Linked DNA regions of Homo sapiens: all the other regions are linked to region 1. Evidence: promoter capture Hi-C in 16 types of primary human blood cells and fetal thymus (Javierre and others, 2016). All regions are on one chromosome and are shown on one strand. The core of a region is centred on a gene start or on the middle of the fragment in contact, and the rest is flanking DNA. Distances in the headings are between cores, read along the strand shown.

Region 1 (3,886 bases), core at 1,387-3,886:
GAGATTGCGCCACTGCACTCCCACCTGGGCCACAGAGCGAGACTCCGTCTCAAAAAAAAAAAAAAAAAAAAAAAAAAAAAAGAAACAACAAAAGAAGCTATAGGGTTTTTGGGTGTGGCCCACATTGCGGATCATCCAGCCCTGGTCTAGGTGGGTGGCTTTAGCCTGAAGGAGCCATGGAAGTTTTAGGAGCTGGTGCACTCAGCTTTGGGAGAAAGTGAGGGCATAGAACGCTGGCCCCGTCTGAGTTTTGACTCTGGCTGGCCGTGTGAACACCACCTAGCACCCTAGGGCATTGTTGGGCCCATCAGCAAGAGAATGTTTTGTCAAGGTGGGGGTAGAACTGGATTTCCCACTACCTTGGGCCCATGAGGCTCATGGGACTTTGGAGAAGCCGCTCATTTTCACATTCTGTAATGTAAACAAGAATAATCTAGATTCATATATATTACCTCCTTTTATGTTGAGAACAACCCTATAGGATAAGTACTACTCTTGTTGCCATTTCCCAGATGAGGAAACTGAGGCACGGAGACGTGGAAGAACTTTCCCTAGGTCACTGTAAGCAGCATAAAGCATCGCTGTGTGCTGGGCCAGTGCCATTTCCGCGCCACCACCGAGACCCCACGGCACGCCTTGCTCACTGTGCAGGAGGCCGCAGTTGCCTTTAGGAGCATGAGGCACTGTGTGCTCCATCTCTGGGGTTCAGAGTGTGCGGTCATGTTATGCCTGCATTCGTATCAGAATGAGGCCCAGGAGGCTGATGGGTTGCAGATTTGCATGCAATGGCGCGATCTCGGCTCACTGCAACCTCCATCTGCCGGGTCCAAGCGGTTCTCCTGCCTCAACCTCCCGAGTAGCTGGGACTACAGGCTTGCACCAACCATGTCTGGCTCATTTTTCCATGTTTAGTGGAGATGGGGTTTCACCATGTTGCCCAGGCTGGTCTCAAAGTCCTGGCCTCAGGTGATCTGCCCGCCTCGGCCTCCCAAAGTGCTGGGATTACAGGTGTGAGCCACCGCGCTGGGCTGCATGAACCTCTTACATGCTTGCCTTCTCTGGAGGGCCTGGACTTTGAAGCTTCTTTCACTCCCAGCATCTTTCCCTACACAGGCCCTCTTCCCCACTATCTCTGGGGGAGGAGTCTGCAGGCCAGTTCTGCAATGTGCCGCCAGAGGGAGCTGCCCGCAGAGAAACGGGAGCGCCACACTCAGGCCCCAGGAAGGCAGCAAGCTGAGTTCCCCTGGCCTCAGTTCACTTTCCCTCTTGAAAGTCACCCAAACTCAAGCAAAAGCTCCGATTCAGGAATAAATGGGGTTGTTTTATCCCAGCCAAGGCCTGGGGAAGCTTGGTATTAAGAGCGTTTGTTCCATTCTTTTAAAAATGGAAAAGGGTCCGTCCTCTGGGTGCCCATGGCACCCTGGAAAGCAGGCAGAGTGCTGGTCACAGGCGGAGACTTTGAGATACCGAGACCGAGGCTGGAGTTTGGGCCCTGAAACTTTCTAACCAGGATGGCCTTGGGCAGAGCAGCCTGTGTTTAGAGCTTCCCATCTGTAATATAGCAGTGACAACCATGCCTGCTTTGCAGGGTTCCTGTTAGGATTAATTCTCTATAGAGCCCCCCAGAAGCCACTTTTGGATTTGAGATGGTTCAAGGCCAGACCTTGCATGACAAGAGTAGGGACAGCTTTCCACAGGCCTCAATAAAGTAGTATTCCCAGGCAGTTCTGCAACCCCAGCCTCATGCCCTTTGCACCTTCCTAAGAGGCTGCCTTGCCTCAGCTTTGGTCCCCATCCAAGACTCCTAAGAGCAAAGCCAGTTCTTTTCCTTTTTTTTCTTTCTTTAAGAGACGGTCTCACTCTGTCACCCAGGTTGAAGTGCAGTGGTGGGATCATAGTTCACTGCAGCCTCGAACTCCTGGGCTCAAGCAATCCTCCCGCTTCAGCCTCCCAAAATGCTGTAGGTCACAGGTATGACTCACCCACCCGGCCTAATTTTTATTATTATTTGTAGAGATGGGATGTCACTGTGTTGCCCACGCTCGAACTGCTGGGCTCAAGCAATCCTCCCTCCTCAGCCTCACTGGCAGCTGGGATTACGAGTCCCACCCAACCTGCTTCTCCTTTTGCAACCCCCAGACCCAGAGGCTCCAGAGCAGGCTCTGGAACAGAGGAAATCTGGCTCCGGCCCACACATTCACCAAATACTGACGCAGCACCCTTGACCTCCAGATGCCCCTGTGCTCTCTTCTGTGCCCAGGCTGCGGGGAGAGAGGGGTCCTCCAGGCCAAAGGGAGGGAGGTCTCCGGGAGGTCCCCGCGGTCCTGGAGGCAGGTGCGCGGGGCCCGGATGTGATCATGCGTGCGCGTGGGAGAAAGGCAGGGCTGGGCCTGCGGGAGCGCGGCCTTGCGGTTCCCAGGACTCTTCTCCGGGCGCCTCGTCTCCTTACGCCACCCGCAACCCAAGCCAGGGCCCCGGTGACAGCGGCGGGGTGGGCCAGGACCGGGGAGGGGGTGCCCAGCAGCGACCCCCGGCTCCCCCTAAGGCCGGGCGCAGCTCGGAGCCAGGAGCTGGCCCGGCGCGTGGCTTCCCGGAAGGCCCGGCGCAGCCGGAAGGTGGGACGGAGGGCGGGGCCAGCGCCGGGGCCGCCACCAAGGCCTGCGCGACCCTCCGCGGGGCTGGGGAGCTGGGCGGGGAGCCCGGGGCCTGCCAGGCCCGGGCTGCAGCCGCGTCTGATCGCCGAGCGCGCCGCGTAGACCTCCGCTCCCCCAGGTAAAGGAGCGCCCGGAGCCGGGGCGGGGCGCCTCCCAGGCCGCGCCCCGCGAGAGGAGGGGGCACCCCAAGAGCAGGCCTGGAGACCCGGGAGTGCCTTGGGGAGAGGGTCCCCGCCCTGCCGGGAGCCCGGCCCTCCCGGTGCCGGGGTGGACACTGTTAGTGTAGTCATTGTCCCTATGGAGAAACTGAGGCATGGAGAGGCTGAAGTCACACAAGTAAGCAGCAGAGCTGGGACTAGAGTCCCGGGCCCTGGCTCGCTGTCACCCAGGAGTGGCGTAGGCATGGGTGTGGTGGGTGGGGGTGGGGTGCGGGTGGTGGATGTGGTGGGAGTGGGTGAGGTTGGGTGGGGTGGGGATGTGGGTTTGGCGGGGGTGGGGTGCGGAATGTGATGGGTAGGGGTGGGGTAGAGTGGGGGTGGCTGGTGGGGCAGGGGCGGGGCTGGGGGTGGGGTGCTAGGTATTATAAATGTGAAGCGGATCCTGACAGGACACCTGTGGGGCAGCGGAGCTGGGCTGAGCCATATGGGAAGAAAATCTGGGCGCTAGTTTAGATTTGGTCAGGAAGGGTCGTTAATGCTTTAGGAGGTGAGATTAGTTTTGGGGATGGCAGGTAGTTTGTTGAGCTTTTGTTTAGACAGTCTTGCTCTGTTGTCCAGGCTGGAGTGCAATGGCGCGATCTCGGCTCACTGCAACCTCCACCTCCCTCGTTCAAGCAATTCCCCTGCCTCAGCCTCCCTAGTAGCTGGGATTACAGGCGACACCACCAAGCCTGGCTAATTTTTTTGTATTTTTAGTAGAGACGGAGTTTCACCATATCGGCCAGGCTAATCTCAAACTCCTGACCTTGCGATCCACCTGCCTCAGCCTTCTGCAATGCTGGGATTACAGACGTGAGCCACCCCGACCAATTTTTGTATTTTTTAGTAGAGACGGGGTTTCACCATCTTGGAATAGCACCTGTAGTTCCAGCTACTCGGGAGGCCGAGGCGGAAGAATTGCTTGAGGCCAGTTCCCGACCAGCCTAGGCAACACAGGGAGACTGCGTTTCTGGAAAAAACAACAACAACACCAGCAACAACAAAAAGCAGGAAGGAAGGGGAGAGGGAAAGAGA
Region 2 (5,471 bases), core at 1,220-3,719, 500 kb after region 1:
CCACTGAGGGGTTGCAGTGGTGTGTACCTGTAGTCCCAGCTACTCTGGAGGCTAAGGGAGGAGGACTGCTTCAGGCCAGGAGTTTGAGACCAGCCTGGGCAACACAGCAAGACCCCCATCTACCAAGTGGAACCCAGGTTGGCCTACAGAAGTCCAAGTTCCAGTATGCCTGCCACTCCTGGACATTGGCCTCCTTCTTCCACGAGAAGACAGCTGTTCGGCCATACAGTTACCCATCTCTCTGCTGCAACGCTGGACTCGAACACCACTACCAGATGCGTTCTTATCAATGTGTCTTTGGGCATGTCATTTGTCTTCTCTGAGTCTTAGTTTCTTCATCTAGAAAATAGAAAGTTATTATTATTGCAGATATTTACATACTGTGTGCCAGGCACAGTTCTAGGCATTTTACATGTATTAATCCATCTCATCCTTAAAATAACTCTCTAGGGTAGATCCTGTTATTATCTCTGTTTTACAAGAGAAAGACGGAGGCACACACAGAGATTAAATAACTTGCCCTAGGGCACAGCTAGTGAGTGGTGAAACTAAAATTGAACCCAGGAGGTCTGGAGATAATTCCTATTCTGTTCACCCAACTGGGACATTGTGAAGGTTTTGTGAAGGATCATTCATTCATTCATTCATTTTTCATTTCCTTACCAACTCAGAGGGAATTGTGATATTATTTCTTGTGAAGCACTCAAACCATGCATGCTGTGTGACAACTTCTCTGGAAATGTCTTTTATCCTAAGGTTGTTGCCAAGGGAGAGCACTGAGCCAGCTGTGTGATGAGCCTGGCTAGGGTGGCCCCTGAGGAGGCAGCCTCCAATCTTGAGAGTACAATATAGTCCCTTGGGCTATAAGGCTGGTCAAAGCCTAGGCCCTAAGGGGAGTCATAGGAAGGTCAAAGGGGAAACCTGTCAGTACACTTTGGACCTGGCATGAGGAATAACAACGAGTCAGCAAGGATCAAGGGAAGGCTTCTTAGAGGAGGTGGCATCTCAGATAAAAACACCACTAGCAAATCCTCACTTGGTGCTGCCTGTGTGCTGGGCCTGCTTGTAGATGCTTTACACGTTTTAGTTCATTTACTCCTCCCAGTAACTTTACAACACACATGGCATCATTACTGCCCCCATTTGGCAGGTGAGGAAACTGAGGCACAGAGAGGTGAGGGAACTTGCCCAGATCACAGAGCCCATGCACAGCACAGAGCCAATTCTGTGCACTGCTTATATTAACATTTACTTAATATTTAAATTATTTTTGACCTAAATGAAAAACTTTATCTCAGTATAGTACAGAATAGAAAACCAGTATGGATAGAAAATCAATACTATGAACCATATAATGAAATCACTCTAGACTCAGTTCTCTGCTAAGAGCTTCTAACTCAAGATCTTTTCTGTTAAAAGTGGGAGATAAGTGTAGAGAGGAATTAAAGATATATTAGGATCAAACTGAGGCCAAGTGAATTTGCTCATGCCTATAATCCCAGTACTTTGGGAGGGGGAGACAGGACTCCTTGAGGCCAGAAGTTCGAGACTGGAGTGGGCAATATAGTGAGACCTCATCTCTACTTTTTTTTTTTTTTAATTAAAGATGTATTAGCACCAAACTGAGACTTTCTCATTGGTGCAATCAGGATTGAAAAACAAAACAAAAGAAAACAAAACTTTCTCACTATGTGATGGAACATGAATGAGCGAGCTCTGTGCATCCTCTAAAATTCTAAAATCCTACTTTGGGAAACAGTGGTGGCACTGAAGAGCATAGACTCAGGAGACAGATTACCCTGCTTCACATCTTGCTGGCTATCCAGTTCCTGGAAAAGAATCTCTCTAAACCTCGGTTTCTTCATGGGTAAAATGCTGATAGTAATAGCTCTGACTTCATAGAGACCTTGATAACAAATGAAAGAACGTAGGTATAATAAAACGCAAAACCAAATACACAGTGAATACTTAATAAACATAATCCATTAGCATTATCGAGCTTTGCACAGATGCCTCTGGCCTTTTTGTTGTTGTTGTTGTTAGATGAAGATAATAAAAATCATCATAGTAAACACATAGCGATTACTATGTGCTGGACTTCGTCGTAGTTGAGATATATTACCATCCTAAGTTAAACTATAATCGTTTATTGTTATCTCTAGGTCTTCCTAGATGAAATTTTTACCCTAAAGGATCGTAAAGTCGGCCCACCGGACGTCAGTGGGGTCCCCTGTTCAGCCCTCTCGTTCTTCTGGGGATCTCTCGGGACACTGACGAGGTGGCACCGGGACCTACAGGTGGGCCGCAAGCCCCGCCCCCAGCGACGGCTTGTAGCCCCGTCCCCCGACGCAGCGCCTCTCCAAGTTTGCCCCGCCCTGCAGGACTGCAGAATTTCCTTTCCGGCGGCGCGCTGTCGTCACGCGTCCCGCGCCTCCTCGCGCCTGCGCCGTGGTTGGAAGGTCGTCCCTGTGACCGGCTTGGCGGTTGGAGCGGCTGTCGCCATGTTGTCGGTAGCATCCCGCTCAGGCCCGTTCGCGCCCGTCCTGTCGGCCACGTCCCGCGGGGTGGCGGGCGCGCTGCGGCCCTTGGTGCAGGCCACGGTGCCCGCCACCCCGGAGCAGCCTGTGTTGGACCTGAAGCGGCCCTTCCTCAGCCGGGAGTCGCTGAGCGGCCAGGCCGTGCGCCGGCCTTTGGTCGCCTCCGTGGGCCTCAATGGTGAGCCGGGGCGAGGGCCGCGAGCAGGGCTGGGGGTCTCTCGGTGCCCGCTCCTCCGGCCCCCAGCAGGGAGCGGCCGCGGGCGCGCGAGCGGAGCCTGAATCAGGTCGGGCTGGGCGGCCTCCGCAACTCTGGGCCTGGCCCCCGGGCTCGGGGCGTCTTTCTGGTGGCCGGCCTGGACTCGCGTCCGCCGGCTTCGCCTGGTTCCTCCTCGGCCGAGTTCACGAGCTCTGTAGTCCCGCTGTTCCAGCCACCTCTGAGGGGTTTTGTTGCTTGCAGGTCGTTTGACCTTGGGCGAGTTTCTAAACGTACTTCCTGTGAAATGGATTCATATCTTTATCAATTTTGTAGGGGTGTCGTGAGGCTTAGGTGGAGGAATTCTACGTAAAGCCGTTAGCACAGTTTGGGCACTTACATGCTTAAGAAATGGAAACTTACTAATATTTGGGAAGTTGGTCTTCTCACCACTACCGATCCCTTCATGTCCTTCCCCTTCATCACCCCCCCACCAAAAAAAAAACAAAAAAAACATACACAAGGTCAGTTACAGTGTAGTGTCACAACATAATCAGTCGTCAAGGACGGGCAGAGATTGACGACATTTACATTTTACAGATGAGAAAACAGACGAGGTAGAATGACTCGCACCAGGATCCGTGGTGTGGACATGTGGTAGCAGGGATTTGACAAGACGAATTGTCGTAGCCACTGAGCTCTTCGCAGGGGCTATTCCACACCCTCTGTCCTTAGATCCCCGTTTATCTTCTTTGCCTCGCCTTCCATCTTTACTTGGCCCTGTATCGGAGATAGAGAAATGGCAGCCTGTGGGCAGTGTGTCTGCAGGCTGTGTAGTTTTCAAAAAAACTGGGAAGACTAATGGCATCTCTTAAAATGCTGGAAGCCGGTAATACTGGGATCTAGTTTCTACTTGGGAAAATTCCATAGTGTGCTGTGTAGTGGCCGCCCCCGCAGTTGGAGCAAGTGGTCTTCTCCAGTTTGTCACAGTCTTTACCAGGTCTGCGTGTTTCATTCTGTTACCAGCCTGGCTCCACTGATAGCTGTTTGTGACTCTTCCCCTACACGCTAACCAAATTGCCCGCCACTTTTCTTTTTACTCTGTCTTCATTCACCCTGGGCTCTGCACTTTCTTCATGGTCCTTCCACTAAGTTGCTACATGTCCATATGTTTTCCTTACCCATCTTTTCAATCTCAGTTAAGGATCAGGTGAATAAAGTTTTTATTTGCTGATTTGTCTGTCTCTGTAGCACATACACTTTACACTCTGTATTGTGTTTATTGGTAACTCCTCCACCCTTGGGCTTAAGGGCATAGAGAAGGTAATATCTTCTTTATTTTTCTATCTTTCACAACGTCGGATTTTGTATACAGTTAGTGCAAAGTATTTGTGAATGAATATTTGTTAAGGAGCATCAGTGGGTTTTGAAGAAACTGTCCATGGCAGGTGTAGAGTACCCTAGCCCATCCTTGGGACCTGGAGGTGAGAAGGAAGGAAGGAGAACATTTCAATAGCAAAAGAAAAGCATCTTTGGAATTCGTCGTGTTGCTAAAGTTTCTTCAAAAAATTGGAGGCTTACATTTCTCTGATGGCCAGTGATGCTGAGCATTTTTTCATGTGTTTTTTGGCTGCATAAATGTCTTCTTTTGAGAAGTGTCTGTTCATGTCCTTCGCCCACTTTTTGATGGGGTTGTTTGTTTTTTTCTTGTAAATTTGTTTGAGTTCATTGTAGATTCTGGATATTAGCCCTTTGTCAGATGAGTAGGTTGCAAAAATTTTCTCCCAATTTTTAGGTTGCCTGTAAACCACAATGAGATACCATCTCACACCAGTTAGAATGGCAGTCATTAAAAAGTCAGGAAACAACAGGTGCTGGAGAGGATGTGGAGAAATAGGAACACTTTTACACTGTTGGTGGGACTGTAAACTAGTTCAACCATTGTGGAAGTCAGTGTGGAGATTCCTCAGGGATCTAGAACTAGAAATACCATTTGACCCAGCCATCCCATTACTGGGTATATACCCAAAAGACTATAAATCATGCTGCTATAAAGACACATTTACATGTATGTTTATTGGGGCACTATTCACAATAGCAAAGACTTGGAACCAATCCAAATGTCCAACAATGATAGACCGGATTAAGAAAATGTGGCACATATACACCGTGGAATACTATGCAGCCATAAAAAATGATGAGTTCATGTCCTTTGTAGGGACATGGATGAAATTGGAAATCATCATTCTAAGTAAACTGTCGCAAGGACAAAAAACAAACACTGCATGTTCTCACTCATAGGTGGGAATTGAACAATGAGAACACATGGACACAGGAAGGGGAACATCACACTCTGGGGACTGTTGTGGGGTGGGGGGAGGGGGAGGGATAGCATTGGGAGATATACCTAATGCTAAATGATGAGTCAATGGGTGCAGCACACCAGCATGGCACATGTATACATATGTAACTAACCTGCACATTGTGCACATGTACCCTAAAACTTAAAGTATAATAAAAAAAAAATTGGAGGTTTACCTGACTTAGAGAAACTATTTTTAGAAACAGGCAAATAATGTAGAACCATAAGGCAAAAACCTTTTCTGTAATCATTTCAGCCTGTAATTTAAGTTCACATTATAGTCTGTCTAGATGGTTCATGGCAGGATGGCTTATGGGAGTGGAGGGGTTGGATCTGGAGAAGATTCTTGAATTGGAGAGGAAGGTTGTACTATTTTCAT
Region 3 (5,471 bases), core at 1,998-4,497, 310 kb before region 1:
CTGGAGCAACCTGACATCATATGCAAAACAAATCTAGACACAGACCATACACCCTTCACAAAAACTAACTCAAAACTGGTCACAGACCTAAATATAAAATGCAAAACTACAAAACTCTAGAATATAGGAGAAAAATCTAGATGACTTTGGATTTAGCAATGGCCTTTTAGATATGACAGCAAAGGCATGATTCATGAAAGAATAAACTGATAAGCTGGACTTCATTAAAATTTCTGCTGTGTGAAAGACACTGTCAAGAGAATATAAAGACAAACCACAGACTGGGAGAAAATATTTGCAAAAGGCATTTCTGACAAAGGATTGTTATCTGAAATACACAAATAAGTATTAAATTGAACACAATAAGAAAACAACCTGACTAAAAAAGGGGCCAAAGTCCTTAACAGACACCTCACCAGAAGACACACAGATGGCAAATAAGCATCTGAAAAGATGATCCATATCATGTTTTATCAGGTAAATGCTAATTAAAATGACAATGAGTTACCACTACACACCTATTAGAATAGCCAAAATCCAGAACAGTGACACCACCAAATATTGGCTAGAATGTGGAGCAACAGGAACTTTCATTCATTGCTGGTGGGAATGCAAAATAGTACAGCTAGATTGGAAGACGGTTTGGCAGTTTCTTACAAAACATAGTCTTACCATATGATCTGTCAATCATACCACTTGGTATTTACCCAAAGAAGCTGAAAACGTATGTCCACACAAAAAGCCACACACTGATGTTTATAGCAGTTTTACTTGTACTTGCCAAAACTTGAAAGCAACCAAGATGTCCTTCAGTAGGTGAATGGATGAACTGCGGTACATCCCGACAATGGAATATTATTTTCAGATCTATCAAACCATGAAAAGACATTATGGAAACTCAAAGGAGAACGAAGCCAATCTTAAAAAGCTAAACATTATGTGATTCCGACTACATGACATCCCAGAGAAAGCAAAACTATGGAGACAATTTTAAAAATCAGTGATTACCAGGTATTGGGGCATAGGGACGGATGAATAGGCACAGCACAGAGGATTTTTAGGGCAGTGAGACTACTCAGCAACTATAATGGTGGATATGTGTTCTTATATATTTATCCAAAGCAACTGAATGTCCACCAAGAGTGAATTCTAATACAAACTATCAACTTCGGGTGATGATGTGGCAATGGATATTCAACTACTGTGGCAATGGATATTCAACTATTGTAACAAATGTATCACTCTGGTGGGGATGTTGATGATAGGGGAGGCTATGCAGGTGTGGGAGCATGGGATATATGGAAAATCTCTGTACCTTCTGCTCAGTACTGCTGTGAATCTAAAATTGCTCTTAAAAAACAGACTTTTAAAAAAATTAGACAAAATTATCAAAAACAACTACTTTTCACCTCTGAGTATTGACCAAAACATAGGACAAATGGAGAAGTGTTTATTCAAGAAAACTACTGAAAGTTGGGTAAAAATGATGACAGTATGTGGCATTGTGACCACTCTCCCTCACCCCAGCTCCTTCAGACAATAGTTCTAACAGGGTGGGACAGCTTGTAAAACCAGAAGCATTTATACTGTAGGGAGCTGACTCAATCTGAAACAACGTGGAAAAACCCAACGCCCAGGGGCTTTGTTAAATATAGCAATTTCAGTGCCAAACATAGGAGAGGTCCACATACATCATAGATGACCTGAAGCTGAAATACTATAGCTGGGCCAAAAAAGAGATCAGAAGAAAAAAATTTTCTGCCTGGAGATTTAACAGAAACAATCAGGAAGTGAGACAATCATAGTCCTTGATAAGCTTACATTTTGAAAGGTAATGGGCATATTAGGGTATGAACATGCTGAGAGACCAGAGAAGGCTCTAACTATATACATACCCCCAGGGAAGACTCGTAAACTGCATAAATTTTCAGTGTGTTCCTCAAACAAAACAGAGACTTTGACAAAGGATGAAAGTCTTACCAAAACAAGATGCCTAAGTACAATCTCTGACCAGTCACCAGCTGATCACTAAGATATATTGATCCAAGGTGACCCATAAGTAGTCAAACATAACTGAGGAGAGACATCAGAGGCCACACGCTGTAGAGAAAAACTCATTATTAATCTTGGCCAAGTCATAAAACAAACAAAAAAAGGGACAATAACCCCTGGCAGGAGAGTATCAGAAATAAATGCTGTTACAATGTATTATTTAAAATGTCCAGTTTTAAACAGGAAAGTATGGCTTATCTAGTATAAAAAAAAAAATACTCAGTATAAACAGAAGCTATTTCCAAGGGTTCCCAAATGTTGGACTTAACAGACAGACTTCAAAGCAGCCAATAAAAATACATCTTCAAAGAACAAAAGAAAACCGTGTTTAATCAAAGCATGAAAACAATGACTAATCAGAGAACACTTAATAAAGAGATCAACATTTTTTAAAAAATGGAAATTCTGGAGTTGAAAAGTAACTAAAGTGAAAGCTTCATTAGAGGGACAACAGCAAACTTGAATGCAGAAGGAAGAATCAGTGAACTCAAAGATAAATCAATACAAATTACACAATCTGAAGAACAGAAGTGAGAATGAAAAATGAACCAAGTAGGAAATCTGTGGGTTACAATCAATACCAACATATGCATAATGGGAATCCCAGAAGAAAAGAATAGTGAGGGCCATACAAGTTTTGACATCTTTTGAAGAGTCATAGAAGTTTTTAATGTCTGAAAACATTCCAAATTTAGTAAGAAGTATAAATCTGTATATCCAAGTATCTCAATAAAATCCAAGTAGAATAAACATTAAAATATCCACACCGATACACATCAAAATCTTGAAAGCAGCAAGAGAAAAATGGACTTATCATGCACAGGGGAACCCCAGTAAAATTAGCAGCTGACTTCTCAAAAGAAACAATGAAGGCCAGAATTAAGTGGTATAACATACTCTACTGTCAAACAAGAATTCTAAATCCAGTAAAACTATCCTTCAAAAAAGAGGACAAAAATAAAGATCTTCCCAGATAGACAAAGAGAATTTGTTGCCACCAAAATTTTTTTTACAAGATATGCTAAAGCAAGTACTTCAGGCTGAAAGGAAACACCACCAGATGGTAACTTGAATCCACATAAAAAATTAAAGTACCAGTAAAAGTAATTATGTAGGCAAATGTAAAAAATAGAAAAAATACTCTTTTTAAGTTTTCTTCTCTTACTTAAAAGATAATTGCATGGAAAAATAATGAACCCATATAGTTATAAATAATAAACCTGTACTGTTATAAAATATATTACAATAATAGGACAAAGGAAAAAGAGACTAGAGCTATGCTGAAGCAAAGTCTGCCAGAATTAAGTTAGTATTATTCTGACGCAGGTTATAATGTTACAATGCATCCTATAAACTCTAGAGCAACCACTATAAAATAACTCATAAAAAAGAGTAAAGCTCTCTTCTACTATGTGAGGACACAGGAGGCCATCTGCAGCCCAGGAAGAGAGCCCTCGGCAGGAACCAAATCAGCTGCTAACCTTGACTTCCCAGTTTCCACAAATGTAAGAAATAAATTTGTGGGTTTAAAAAAAAAAAAAGTACAGTTTCTTTTTGTAAAGGAATTCAAAGTTTATACTAAAAGATTTATTTAACATACACAAAAAAAGGTAACCAAGGAGGAACAGAGGAACAAAAAAGACATGACATATAAAAAATGACTAACAAAATGGCATGAGCTATTGATATGTAAATGAGCCATATCAACAATTACATGAATTAACACACATTTCAATAAAAAGACAGGCTGGCAAAATAGACTTTTTAAAAACAAAATTCAACCACATGCTGCCCACAAGATACAAATGCTAAAAAGGATGAAAAAAGAGATACCACATAAGCATAACCATAACCAAGGTGGAGTGGTCATAATCATATCAGACAAAACTGACATAGGCTTTAAAATTAAAATGTTACTAGAGAAAAAAGGGACATTTTGTAATAATAAAAGCTTCAATTAATCAGAAGATATGACAATGACAAACATATATGTACCTAACAACAGAGAAAAAAATGCATGAAACAAAAACTAACAGAACTTGAAAGGTAGGACTATTTAACAATAATAGTGTAAGGCCTCAGTATCCCACTCTCAATAACGGATAGCACAAGTAGACAAAAAATCAGCAAGAATACAGAAGACAACAATAACAATGACCTTGACATGACATCAACAGAACACTCCATAAAACAACAGAATACGTATTCTTTTGAAGCACACACAGGAGAACATATGCTACCCATTTTTAAAAAGTCCTAATGAATTTTTAAAAACTAAAGACATAATAAATGTTTTCTCCAGACACAACACAATTAAAGCAGGAACCAACAGAAAGAAACTTGAGAAACCCACTAATATTTGGAAATTAAACAATACATATTACAGTAACCCATGAGTCAAAAAAGACATCTCAAGAGAAATTAGAAAATATTTTTAACTACAGAAAAATTAAAACAAATCAAATGTCACTGGATGCAGCTAAGGGTTAGTGCCTAGAGGTCAATTTATATCTTTAAACACCTACATTAGAAGACAGTAGTCTCAAATCAATAGATTAACACCTTTAAAAACTATAAAAGGCAAGGAAGAAGAAAGGAAATAATAAAGATTAAAGTAAAAGTCACTGGAATAGAAAACTAGAGGAAAATCAACAAAATCAAAAAGTTTCTCTGAAAAGGTCAATAAAACTGACAGACCTATAGTTAGAATTACAAAAAATATAGGACAAAAATTAGCAAAATCAGAAGGAAATCACAGGCCAGGCACGGTGCCTCACACATGCAATACCAGCACTTTGGGAGGCCAAGGCAGGAGGATCACTTGAGCCTAGGAGTTTGAAACCAGCCTGGACAACATAGTGAGACCCTGTCTCTACAAAAAAAGTAAAATAAAAAGGAAATTGCTGCCAACTTAAGAAATTAAATGGATTATAAAGGAATACTTTGGACAACTTTATGATGACAAATGCAATAATTTACATGAAATGGACAAATTCCTACAAAGAGTCAAATTATCAAATGGACTCAAGAAGAAATATAAAACTTAAATAGACTTAAAATAAGAACTTTAATAGCAATTACAAATCTTCACACAAAGAAAACTGCAGGCCCAATGGTTTCACTGATGAATTCTATCAAACATTTAAAGAAGAAATAGTACTAGTCCTTCACAAATTCATCCAGAAGAGTATACTTCCCATCTGATTTTGTGAGGTCAATATTATCCTTATATAAAAACCAAACAAAGACATCACAAAAATAGAACATGACAGATCAATATCCCTCATGAATATATACACAAATATTCTCAACAAAACATCAGCAAACCAAATTCAGTAACATATAAAAAGGATCACGCACATTAAAAATGGGCTTTATCCCAGGAATGCAGGATTGGTTTAATCAGAAAATTAATTTAA
Region 4 (5,471 bases), core at 414-2,913, 300 kb before region 1:
AACATTTATCAGCAATTACCTGATAACATCCATTACCTGTTTTCTAACAGTATGGAAGACTATCAAATAAGGTAAGATACTTTCCAGGTCACCTAAGATCATTATACTAAGAAGAGGGGAAGAAAACATTCTAGTCATATGTACTGTCCCTAAATGCTACCAATCTCCATCCCCAATTACCATTTAATACACTGAGTATAATACCATTTAGTAAAAGCAATGGAATTTTTAGATAAGGTTATATATATGCATGTATCTTATTGTATATACAAATGTGTACACTGGTTTGATCCAGGCATGGGTTCCCCAATCTTCCTAAATACTTTTTAAATTGAAAACTTCAAATACGCACCAAAACACAAGAATGAAGAAATCAATAGCCTTATATTTCACAGACATCCTTATTTGGGGATTTCCTAACCTCCCCTGCACCACCACCAAAAACTGTAAGAAGTGTGGTGGGTGAAAGTGTATTGAGTGTGCACTATTTTTTCTATGGACAGGGTCTACAGCTTTCATCAGATTATAAAACAATTCCATAATCCCCCAAGAGTTAAGTTTCACTGGTACAAGGTAAAATATTAGACTTTAGGTAATTATCTGCTATGCATGCATTATTTTTCTTTAACTTAGCCAAGGTATTTAAAAGAGAATAATGTAATCTGCTCCTTACACTATCAGAAAATGACCTACTGGTAATTTATTTAAAATAAACTGCGAAATAATTTCCTAGCTACAAATGTAATACATAATGCCAAGTAAGACATTTTAAATTTCCCATTTTGCTGAAATAGAACGTTAAGACAAGTAATGTGTTTATCAAAAAATAAACTATTTGATTATCACAATATTTGTACTGTTTGTGACTATTAATTTTTTATTAATTAGTACCAAGAAAGTATAAAACCTAGAATTAATTTAATCTTATGACTTTTCAGATTAAATAGCTAAAACTGGTCAAAGATACTATATGAAATAAAGAATTAAAAGATACACACACACACCTCAGGTGTTACTGATAAGGGCAAAAGTTTCTTTTGATTTTCTTGTGGTTCCTCTTCCAAAATGCTCTCACTGGTGTCACTGCAAGTGGCTTCTTCGCAGCTGATACTCCTCAAAACTCCCCGCCTATCATCAAATTCAGCAGCACTGCTTTCACTAGTGTCGCTACACACACTATTCTCTCTACTTCGAGACTTCAGGATGGATTTGCGAGGGACATATTCTCCATTCACAACATCAACAAAGGCTCTGTGATATTCAAAACACATATGCATTCACTATACGTAACTCATAAAACTGAGAACAACTTTTTGAAAATTTCCTTGAATCTATTCTAGAAATTAATCTGAAAATTTTTATTACAATCTTATATCTAAAATAGTCACAATCACAATAATTTTATAGCCTCAAATGGTATCTTCATACTATTTTGAAAGCTATTTCTCTGGCCTAATAATAAAACACAGCATGTTATTTATTTATTTTATTATACTTTAAGTTCTAGGGTACATGTGCACAACGTGCAGGTTTGTTACATATGTATACATGTGCCATGTTGGTGTGCTGCACCCATTAACTCATCATTTACATTAGGTGTATCTCCTAATGCTATCCTTCCCCCCTCCCCCCACCCCATGACAGACCCCGGTGTGTGGTGTTCCCCACCCTGTGTCCAAGTGTTCTCATTGTTCAATTCCCACCTATGAGTGAGAACAAAAACACAGCATGTTATTTTTAAGCATGTCCTAGGTGGCAATAGCATGGTTTGCCAAAATTCTACATAAAGTTTTAGACCCACGTATACATTTAGCAATTTTCACTGATTTATAAATAAGGGTCATAAAAACAGTAGGTATTTTCAAGTGATAGTTTTCTCAACAAACAATTCCAAAAAAAAGGAAAAAAAAAAAAAACCTGCAACAGTATAATTTCTACTCTGAAAAGGTAAACTGCATGCCAAGCATGTTACGGCTGTGGTAGAAACGTAGGGACCTAGCCCACTGGAAACAAAAATGCTTTCTGAAGATACAAGATTTTCTGACTAGACCATTTGGAAATGTTTCAAAAGCACTGGTGAAGAGGAGAAAGTGAAAAAAAAAAAAAATCCTCCATTCCCACTGCTCTGGACTGGGAAGCTACAGCCGGTCAGCCTATCAGATCCTAAGTTAACTCCTCAGAACACTTCACTTTTCAGTGAGGGTCTTCTGTGTTACAGTCAACTTTCTCCAGTAAAGGTTCAGTGGCAGAAAGAGAGGCAAGCCCAGCAGACTGCCCTGCAGCTGTGAGCGCCTCCCACCTGTAAATGTCTGCAGGCGTCCTGATGGTCGGCAGCTCCTGGGCAGAGTGGCCACTGCCAGTGCTGTTCTTTCGTTTACGTTTGGCTTCTTCTTTCTTTTCACTGAATTTTAAAGTGGTATTCTTTCCAGTATTTATTCGGACCTAAAATTTCAGAGCAAGAAATTAAGAATCTTTTGACAAATTAAATCAAAGTGAAACCAAAACAAATAAACTCTATAACTAAAAAAATAATAGTAAGAGAGGCAGCTGAAATTTTCTGATGCTGAAATGATGTGCATTATCAGATGGAATTTTTTAAAAAGTCCTTATCTCATAGATCTATGACATCTAAAGAAAATCTTCTTTATTAACAAATCCTAGTCTTCAGTGTCTTTATTATTGTAGAGAAAGCAAAATACATTTGAACTAAATGCTAGATTTCTTATAAACTTCCCATCACCCCATTCCTTTGATATAAGTGTTTGGCTTGAATTATGTATTTCAAAAGAAAGAGTATAAACAAAAATTCAGTAAGAATACAACCTTTAAGTCATAAAAGTACTATTAAATAATGCCTATTTAGAATTTTTAAAACATCTCTAATTTTTAGAAATTGAAGGAGTAAAAAAATAAAAACCAAGCCTGTTCAGGGTTCACATGGGGTTAACATGTTATTTTTCTATCCCTAGTCAGCACTTAGAGCATACTTTCCACAATAATGACCACTATTACCTGTAACGTTCCTGCAAATAATATTTGTTCTTTCTGTTTTATCTAAATGAAAACAGGAAAAAAGTAAAAGCCTGGCAAAAGATTAAAAAGCGACCTTTTTTTCTGGCTAATCATCTCAGTCAACTTTTCCCGAAGAATCAGGGGAAGACCCCTTCAGTCTGACATATTAGAATATAAAAACACAAACAATTATTTCACTTCATATAGGAGCAGGAATAACTTTAGGAAGCTAAGAAATATCAAATATGTTTTAAACATATTTCACTAAATAATAATCACACACACTTAAGAATGATACCACAGACCCTTAACTGATACAGGCAATCGGGATATTGTGTAGAAAGGGCACTCAGAGGCGAAAGAGTTCCTGTTTTGTTACCAACCAGATCTATGTCTTCTAGGCCTTAAATTTCCCTGAGAAAGACGAATTAGACGAATTCCCAGTGTCCCCTTAGAGCAGTACATGGAGCAGAGAGAGGGCAAAGATGGACTTAAGGCAGCCTATCCTTCCTTCAATCAGAGCCAAGCTGCTTTGATCTATTTTAAATACTGGGATTCTACAGTAAGTATGGAGGGAACAAAAGGCTTTTCATACTAGAGAAAAGCTTTAAAACTCTGTATTAGAAAATCTCCAGTCACCCCCAGCTCTAAAATGCCAAAATTCTAAGTCATGATTATCCACAGATGTTTATATTTACTTTGTCAGAAAAGAAACTAATTTTTACTTCCTCCTACATTTTCCCTTTGTGCCTATGAAGTATTCATTTTATGTCCATAGAAAACAACCTGGCATAATTAAAAATTTAACTAATGCAGTCACTTTCAACATCCTAAGCACACCAAAATGTCCACAATATAATTAACTCCAGGATTCTTAAGAAAACTCTCTGAATGAAGGACAGGTGAAGTTACAGTAGTTGCCACTCAAATCTGATCCCCTTCCAGACCCCAAACAATGCATTGTTTCAGAGAACAATGGACCAATACCAGCTAACTAAATTTTTTTTCCCTTTTTCTTCTTAAATTGGTCAGAACAAGAGGCAAAAGATGATTTTCCTGTCTGGCACTATCCACAATGATAATGATTGTTAATATTGCTCTTCTAAAAAATATCATAATGCTTAATGTTCAAATTATATGCAAAATTAGTAAAGTTAAAAGTATACAAACCCTCTTAGGCTCAACAGTATGTGAAAAATATATTGTTGGTATAGAATTATCTCCAACCCCTAAAGCCTCATGGTCGTTATCACCATCATCGTCGTCAATGTTGTCGTCGTCGTCGTCATCATCATCATCATCATCATCATCACTGTGGTAAGAACTGGAACCATTCACTGAACAGTTCAACTGACTATTCACTTGACCACTGAATGGTTCTGAACTTGCAACATCCTTATGACAAGGAGTATGAGAGTCTGTTACTTGATGCATCGCATTCACATTTGTGTTACGATCTTCCTTTTCCTCTTCAGAAGATGTCGTATCTTCTCCATTTGCAATCACAGTATCAGGCTTACTAGCAAGGAAGAAAATTAACAAGATCAAACAAACATACTAGAATTTTACATTATTTAAATTTCCAGTTAGTTTCCATGGGTAAATACTAAGATCTTGAATAAAGTATTTTTAAAACTAGAATTCTAAGTTCAAAAACAAAAAAATGTTTTGAAATAAATTAACAAAAAACAGTTCCTATGCTGCTTCTATATATTGAGGTTATTCAGACATAAGTAGAATATAGAAGATAATTTTTTTATCTTTGCAAGAAAGATATTGGCCATATGCAATATAAATATAGTATCAATAATAATAAAGTTGTAAGAAATTCAGAGAACATTTATCTCTAAAGACCAGAAATTGAAACCACATAATACACACTTATTTTCTACTCCTATACTCAGAATATTTTACAATGAGCATGTATTATTGTAATTTTTAAAAATAAAGGATTTATACATATGCACACGAATATATCTATATGCATGAGTGAACATTTATCATACTTGATTCTATAAAAGATGTGAGGACCTTACAAAAATAACAAAATTGAAAATGCAACAGAACTGAAATAACATCATACAAAAAATAGAAAGAGAATCATGACCAAGAAAAATCACAAGATCCAAAACTGGTTTTAAAAAATGAATAGTATTAGTTAATCAAAAAGACCTAAGAATTTATAGGTGAAACACTAGGAAAAAGAAACTTTTATGCTTCCTGCCCTATTTTTCACAGAAACTAATTATTGCATATGGTACATCATTTAAGCAAAATAATATAGAACTTCTCGAGTAGCAGATTTCATTTAGCATTTTAACAATTCTAAGTGTGTGCTAATGTGTATTTCAAACAGCAATTTCGTAAAGTTTCTCATACATATAGCTATCTGACCAGATTACAAATTACCTGCTCCAAAGTTTATAAAAGGAAAGCAAGAATAAACATTTTACTGTATC
Region 5 (5,471 bases), core at 1,732-4,231, 260 kb before region 1:
AAAAAAAGTACAAAGAAGTACAGTTTTCAAACCTAATACAGTTGAGACAAAGATAAAAAATCATGAGGTGTGCCCAAAGCAGTAAGCCCTAAGCCCTTTGCCTCAGTCAGATACTGGACTTGAGCTGGTCATGGGAAACTGAACCAAACCATATTGACACTGGAAACACGTCGTCATCAAGGACTATTCTAGGTGATGAAATGTGATTAGGGATTTTTTTTAATAATAGTTTAAAACTCTTCAGGGGAAAAAAACTCTCCTATAACATGTAAGTTTTCCTTTCATTTTCAGAAGTGCGTTAAACTAGCTGGTTGCTTCCAAAAACATGATATAAAAGCTTGAGGACTCCTACAAGTAATAAATTCTAATTACAAGTTAAAAATCATTTAACTCTTTAAAAAGAGAAGGAAAAGAAAAATGCATTTACAGTTTGACCTTAGTCACATAAATACACATACAGAATTAAGAAGCTAGAGGGAATAAAAGGGAATGTTTTAAAAACAGGGAGAGAATTAGCTTCTCTTTACAATTATGAGTAAATTTATCTTTATTCCTTTCTTATTTCAACTTTTCCATAACTAAGCATGCATTCATTTTATATTCAGAATAAACATTTAAAAACCTAACTCAGATTTAAAAAAAATTCTTTAAACATTCAACTTGAATCTTTTTTTTTGCCTCTTAATTTGCTTTGAAACATTACACACGAGTTCCAAACTCACTTAATCACTAGCGCATGTACTAACTCACACCATTTTTTAAAACTGTGCAGAAACTTAATGACAAGATTTGACATATATGATTCTTCCCCCTTATCCCTAAGACTTTCATAAACAACTACAGAAACTCCAACAACAAAAACATGCAAAATTTCCAGAAAGTTTGGCAGTTGCTCTCTGCTCAAGAGGAGGGAAAAAAAAAAAAAAAAAGAAAAAATAACATAAAGAAAAAGCCCAAACAGAAGGCCCTCTACAAAACAGTGACTGAAAACTTTGTAGTCAGTAAAATACAGACTCTGAAAAACACAGTTTACAAATCTACCTAACACTGTAGAAAAAAGTCATTGGCTTTTACAAGTTTTAAAGGTATGCAGATCAATATTTCACATATTATACATAATAAAATAAATTTTATATAGCATGTGAAGGCAACTCAAGAAAACAGTTTCAGGTATTCATATGAAATATACTGTAAACCATGGCATTGTTACAATGATATAGTTCAGTGCTTCTGTGCACAAGGAATGCCTCAAAAACATGAGACATATAGACAGATATACAATGTGTGCATAAAGCAGGTATCTCCATCCCGACTGATAGGAAAGAGTAGCTCCAACAGGAAAAAAAAAAAAGAGAGAGAGAAAATCAAATCTTCACCTGAGATTTTTAGCTATACAGGTATGCTTTCTTGGTTATTTCCTACTATATACTTTAACTATAAATTCTAATGGAAGCTAGTTACTCTTTTCCTCTGAACAATTATTTTTGTCCAGTTTCCTTTGAAAAATAAAAAAATGTTGAGTATTTGCTTTAGACTCTCTCAAAACTCACATGCCAAAGTGTTTTAGAACTTTTATGTCTAAATTTAAAGTATTCTTTCCAAAATTAAACACCTGAACAAAGTATCTTCTTCTATATTTAAGTCTGTTTCATGTAATTTCAAAGATACCTTTACCAAAAATCCTTTTAAAATAAAGGAAGCAAGGCAATAAATTTTTTACAACTCACATGCATACGATTTACGATTGTAAGTAATGCCTAACATAAAGATGAACTGCCAGGCATCACATGTACTATTTCATTTCATTCTCACCAGTCAACATAAAGGACGGAGACTTCCTTTTTGTGTGTGTAGGACCTATTCAATAAAGTCATTGCAGTGCATTAAAAATGACCATTAATTCTTTTTCACGCCTCCTCTCAACAGGTGGGTGTTATCTTCCCACCTTGTGAATCTGCGCTGGCCCTTCCTTTGACCAACATAACGTGGCCTTGCAGCTTCCATTCTTGCTGCTGAGATGCCCATAGAAAGTAAGCTGGACAAAAGAGCACATGGAGGCAGAGGCTCAACCAACAGCACTAACCACCAGACTTGAGGGTGAGGTCATTCTGGACAACAAAGCTGACCCAGCCACCAACTGGCTGCAACCAAAGCAGTGAGCCCACACAAGACTAGCAGAAGAACCACACAGGTGAGCCCAGCTTAATATGCACACCCACTGAATCATGTGCAAGTAAATGGTGGTTGTTTCAAGCCACTAAGTTTTGCAGTAATTTTACTAAGGAGCAGTAAAATAACAGATATATCATCTTAGCAAGGATATATTTTGAGTTCAGAGCTATACTCTCAGTCATGTAGCAATTATTTATTTAAAAAAAAATAGTTCCAGGTCTCATTTAGTAATCCTAAAAGTTAAATGTCTGACATACAGCAAAATGTATGGAATGAGGTAAAGAGGAACTGTTAGTTAATGATACAGGGTAGGTATAGTATTAAATGAACAGGTACAATCTGATTTCATTTTTGTCCAAAAGGATGGGAGCCGTATATAAACATGTAGATGAATACACACACACAACACACACACATACATACACAAACACTTACATTATGCAAACCATTTCTGAAAAGATTTATGAGAAATTGGTAAAAAACTGCTGTTTCCAGAAAACAGAACTGAGGGGCCGGGTGCGGTGGCTCACACCTGTAATCCTAGCACTTTAGGAGGCGGAGGAGGGTGCATTGCCTGAGCTCAGGAGTTCGAGACCAGCCTGGGCAACACGGTGAAACCCCGTCTTTACTAAAATACTAAAAAAATTAGCTGGGCATGGCGGCACGCGCCTGTAATCTCAGCTACTTCGGAGGCTGAGTCAGGAGAATAGCTTGAACCCGCGAGGCAGAAGTTGCAGTGAGCCGAAACCATGCCATTGCACTCTAGCCTGGATGACAGAGTGAGACTCCATCTCAAAAAAAAAAAAAAAAAAAAAGTAAACAGAACTGAGAATTAGGGGACAAAGTTAGGAGGAACCTATACATCATTTACATCCTTTCATACCTCCTAAATTTTGAAACATGTAAATGTATTGTCTCATTAAATATTTTTTATTTAAATCTTAAAAAGTTAATATATAGTCTTTCTTGTCTCTTAAAGATATATACTGAAATATTTCCAGATGGAATGATACGGCTTAGATTCATTTCAAAACTGGAGATGGGATAGGCAAAATAGTTTTTATTAAAAAGTCAAAAAAGAACAGATGTTGGCAGGACTGCAAAGAAAAGGAATGCTTTTACACTGTTAGTGGGAATGTCCAGCCACTGTGGACAGCAGTTTGGAGATTTCTGAAAGAACTAAACTGAACAACCATTCAACCCAGCAATCCATTACTGAATACAGACCACCCAAAAAAAAAAAGCATTCTGCCAAAAAGATACATGCACCTGTATGTTCACTACCACAATGATCACAATAGCAAAGCCATGGAATCAATCCAAGTGCCCATCAACAGTGAACTGGATAACAAAAATGTGATACATATATACTATGGACTACTACACACCCATAAAAAAGAAGAAATATTTGCAGTAACATGGATGCAGCAGGAGGCCACTATCCTAAGCGAACTAATGCAGAAACAGAAAACCAAATACTGTATATTCTCACTTATAAGTGGGAGCTAACCACTGGGGACACATGGACATAAAGATGGGAACAAATAAACACTGGGGAATACAAGAGCGGTGAGAAAGGGCAGGGGCAAGGGCTGAATAACTGCCTACTGGGTACTATGCTATCTGGGTGATGGGTTCAATTGTACCTCAAATCTCAGCATCATGCAATGCACCTTTGCAACAAACCTCTACATGTACCTCCCAAATCTAAAATAAAAGTTAAAAAAAAATTGGAGGTAGGAGTAGATGGCAAGATAAGATGTTGAAATGAACAGTTTAGAGAAAATCATGAGTTGATGATTATCAAAGCCGACTGATGAGTACATGAGGATTCACTATACTACTCTATCACCTTTCATTTGAAATTCTTCATACCAAAAAGTGATTTAAAAATATTAATGTAAAGCTGTAACAGTAATTCACAGAAACCCAACTCTCTCTCCATCATGACAAAAAAACAGAATGAACACTAAATATTCACGAATATTTACAAAGCACTGGCTTTTTTTTTTATTTGTCTGACAATTAAAATTTTCAAAAGAGGTATATGGGTTCCTATTAATACTTATTGAGTGCCGGGCAGGGTGTTCTACAGACATGATCTCATTTGATCTTCACTACAACCCTGTGAGTTAAGTAGTATCATCATCACTTTACAAGAAAAAACTGAGACTCTGAGCATAATTGTTCAAGGTCAAAACGCTAGTAAATGACAGGATTCAAATATAGGTCTGTGACTCCAAATGCCATGCTCTTTAAGGAAGAATTAAAAAGAAAATTACAAATAATCCACAAACAAAATAATCAGCCACTAGTGGACCAAACAGTGGGAAGTATCCTCATACTTTAAGGAGGTAACAGTGTGTGGATTTCATAATACCTTATTTCCTGAGTTAGTTAAAAAGGATTATAAAGAAAAAAAGTTTGATTCAAAAACATTTTTTAAATCCTCACTAAACTGAAAACCATTATTATTAGCTCTAAAATAATGTACAAATTCTCATCCAATAGGCTTGAATCTTTCCTTTTTATCTGTTATTAACTAAACAAATATTATAAATTTCTTCGTTCACCAAAGTTCTAGGATTTAAATTAATTTTCTCAAAGATTTTTTTGGGTAGATCCTGTGGTCCCAGACCATTTTCACTCCTATTTTTCTATAAATATTTTTACTCCCTGTCCTACATTTTTTTTTAAACAAAAACCAATTTAGATTATTTCTGAGCCTAGAATACATATACTTGTTCCTTAAAGAATCCCTTAAAAATTATACAAACAAGCATAAACATCACCAGCATAAGAATGCATTTTTCAAACCATATATTTTGTTCTTCTTTACTATACTGGTGCGTACTCATAAAGAATAGGGGCTTAACAGAAATTATATTTTAGACTAGGCTAATACCAAGGGTTAAGTAGGAATTAAAGCAACATGCTTTTAAAAGTAGTGTGTGAGACACCCTAAGAACGGCTCCAGCCTCTGAACTCCTGTAGTTGCTTCATATCTCCGCAAATAGCACAAAATTATCGTGATTTCCCTGTTATATGTCTGGCTATGAATTCTTCTATGGCAGGGTCTTTCAATTCCAAACAGCAGCACAATACTGGCATATGGTAGAAACTCAACTATTGTTTGAGGAATTAAGAGAATGCAAAAATATCACAAGAATTCCACGACTCTCCCAAACAGCAATTTCCTTGCTTTCAGGGAAATGGTGACACTTTGGTTTCAATTTTTTGATATAATGAATTGATTAATTTACTGGCCATTCAGATTTGAGCAATATACCATGTATAGA

Evidence for each region. The method cuts DNA at HindIII sites, captures the fragments that hold promoters and counts their contacts. A CHiCAGO score of 5 or more calls a contact.
Region 2: the fragment with the promoter of UQCRFS1 here is called in contact with the fragment with the promoter of C19orf12 in region 1 in 4 of 17 cell types (naive CD8 T cells, total CD4 T cells, total B cells and 1 more); the score reaches 7.7 in naive CD8 T cells.
Region 3: a fragment that was not itself captured here is called in contact with the fragment with the promoter of C19orf12 in region 1 in 2 of 17 cell types (non-activated CD4 T cells and naive CD4 T cells); the score reaches 5.4 in non-activated CD4 T cells.
Region 4: a fragment that was not itself captured here is called in contact with the fragment with the promoter of C19orf12 in region 1 in 5 of 17 cell types (activated CD4 T cells, total CD4 T cells, naive CD8 T cells and 2 more); the score reaches 6.7 in activated CD4 T cells.
Region 5: a contact is called between a fragment that was not itself captured here and the fragment with the promoter of C19orf12 in region 1, in 3 of 17 cell types (total CD4 T cells, naive CD8 T cells and non-activated CD4 T cells). The highest score is 5.8, in total CD4 T cells.

What each region holds. Positions count from the first base shown.
Region 1 is chr19:29,714,011-29,717,896 of GRCh38, reverse strand. C19orf12 (chromosome 19 open reading frame 12) reads left to right here and starts at 2,636. Exons shown (of 3, transcript NM_031448.6): 1 at 2,636-2,772. RefSeq lists enhancers at 1,277-1,496, 2,042-2,141 and a silencer at 2,312-3,101. The HindIII fragment of the contact is 2,629 bases long and covers 1,350-3,886 here.
Region 2 is chr19:29,210,149-29,215,619 of GRCh38, reverse strand. It overlaps UQCRFS1 (ubiquinol-cytochrome c reductase, Rieske iron-sulfur polypeptide 1), which reads left to right and starts at 2,469. Exons shown (of 2, transcript NM_006003.3): 1 at 2,469-2,715. The coding sequence starts at 2,502. It overlaps UQCRFS1-DT (UQCRFS1 divergent transcript), which reads right to left and starts at 2,367. Exons shown (of 2, transcript NR_184022.1): 1 at 2,212-2,367; 2 at 1-339. RefSeq lists an enhancer at 2,286-2,525 and a silencer at 2,566-2,875. The HindIII fragment of the contact is 13,970 bases long and covers 1-5,471 here.
Region 3 is chr19:30,026,541-30,032,011 of GRCh38, reverse strand. No RefSeq gene overlaps it. Among named protein-coding and RNA genes, the nearest start is that of URI1, 87 kb to the right of the region's middle. RefSeq lists enhancers at 1,095-1,594, 1,660-1,709. The HindIII fragment of the contact is 1,517 bases long and covers 2,489-4,005 here.
Region 4 is chr19:30,008,065-30,013,535 of GRCh38, reverse strand. It overlaps URI1 (URI1 prefoldin like chaperone), which reads right to left. Exons shown (of 11, transcript NM_003796.3): 8 at 4,183-4,531; 9 at 2,300-2,442; 10 at 1,005-1,251. Among named protein-coding and RNA genes, the nearest start is that of URI1, 69 kb to the right of the region's middle. The HindIII fragment of the contact is 3,913 bases long and covers 1-3,619 here.
Region 5 is chr19:29,973,017-29,978,487 of GRCh38, reverse strand. The region is part of intron 2 of URI1 (URI1 prefoldin like chaperone); the gene reads right to left. Among named protein-coding and RNA genes, the nearest start is that of URI1, 34 kb to the right of the region's middle. The HindIII fragment of the contact is 5,284 bases long and covers 340-5,471 here.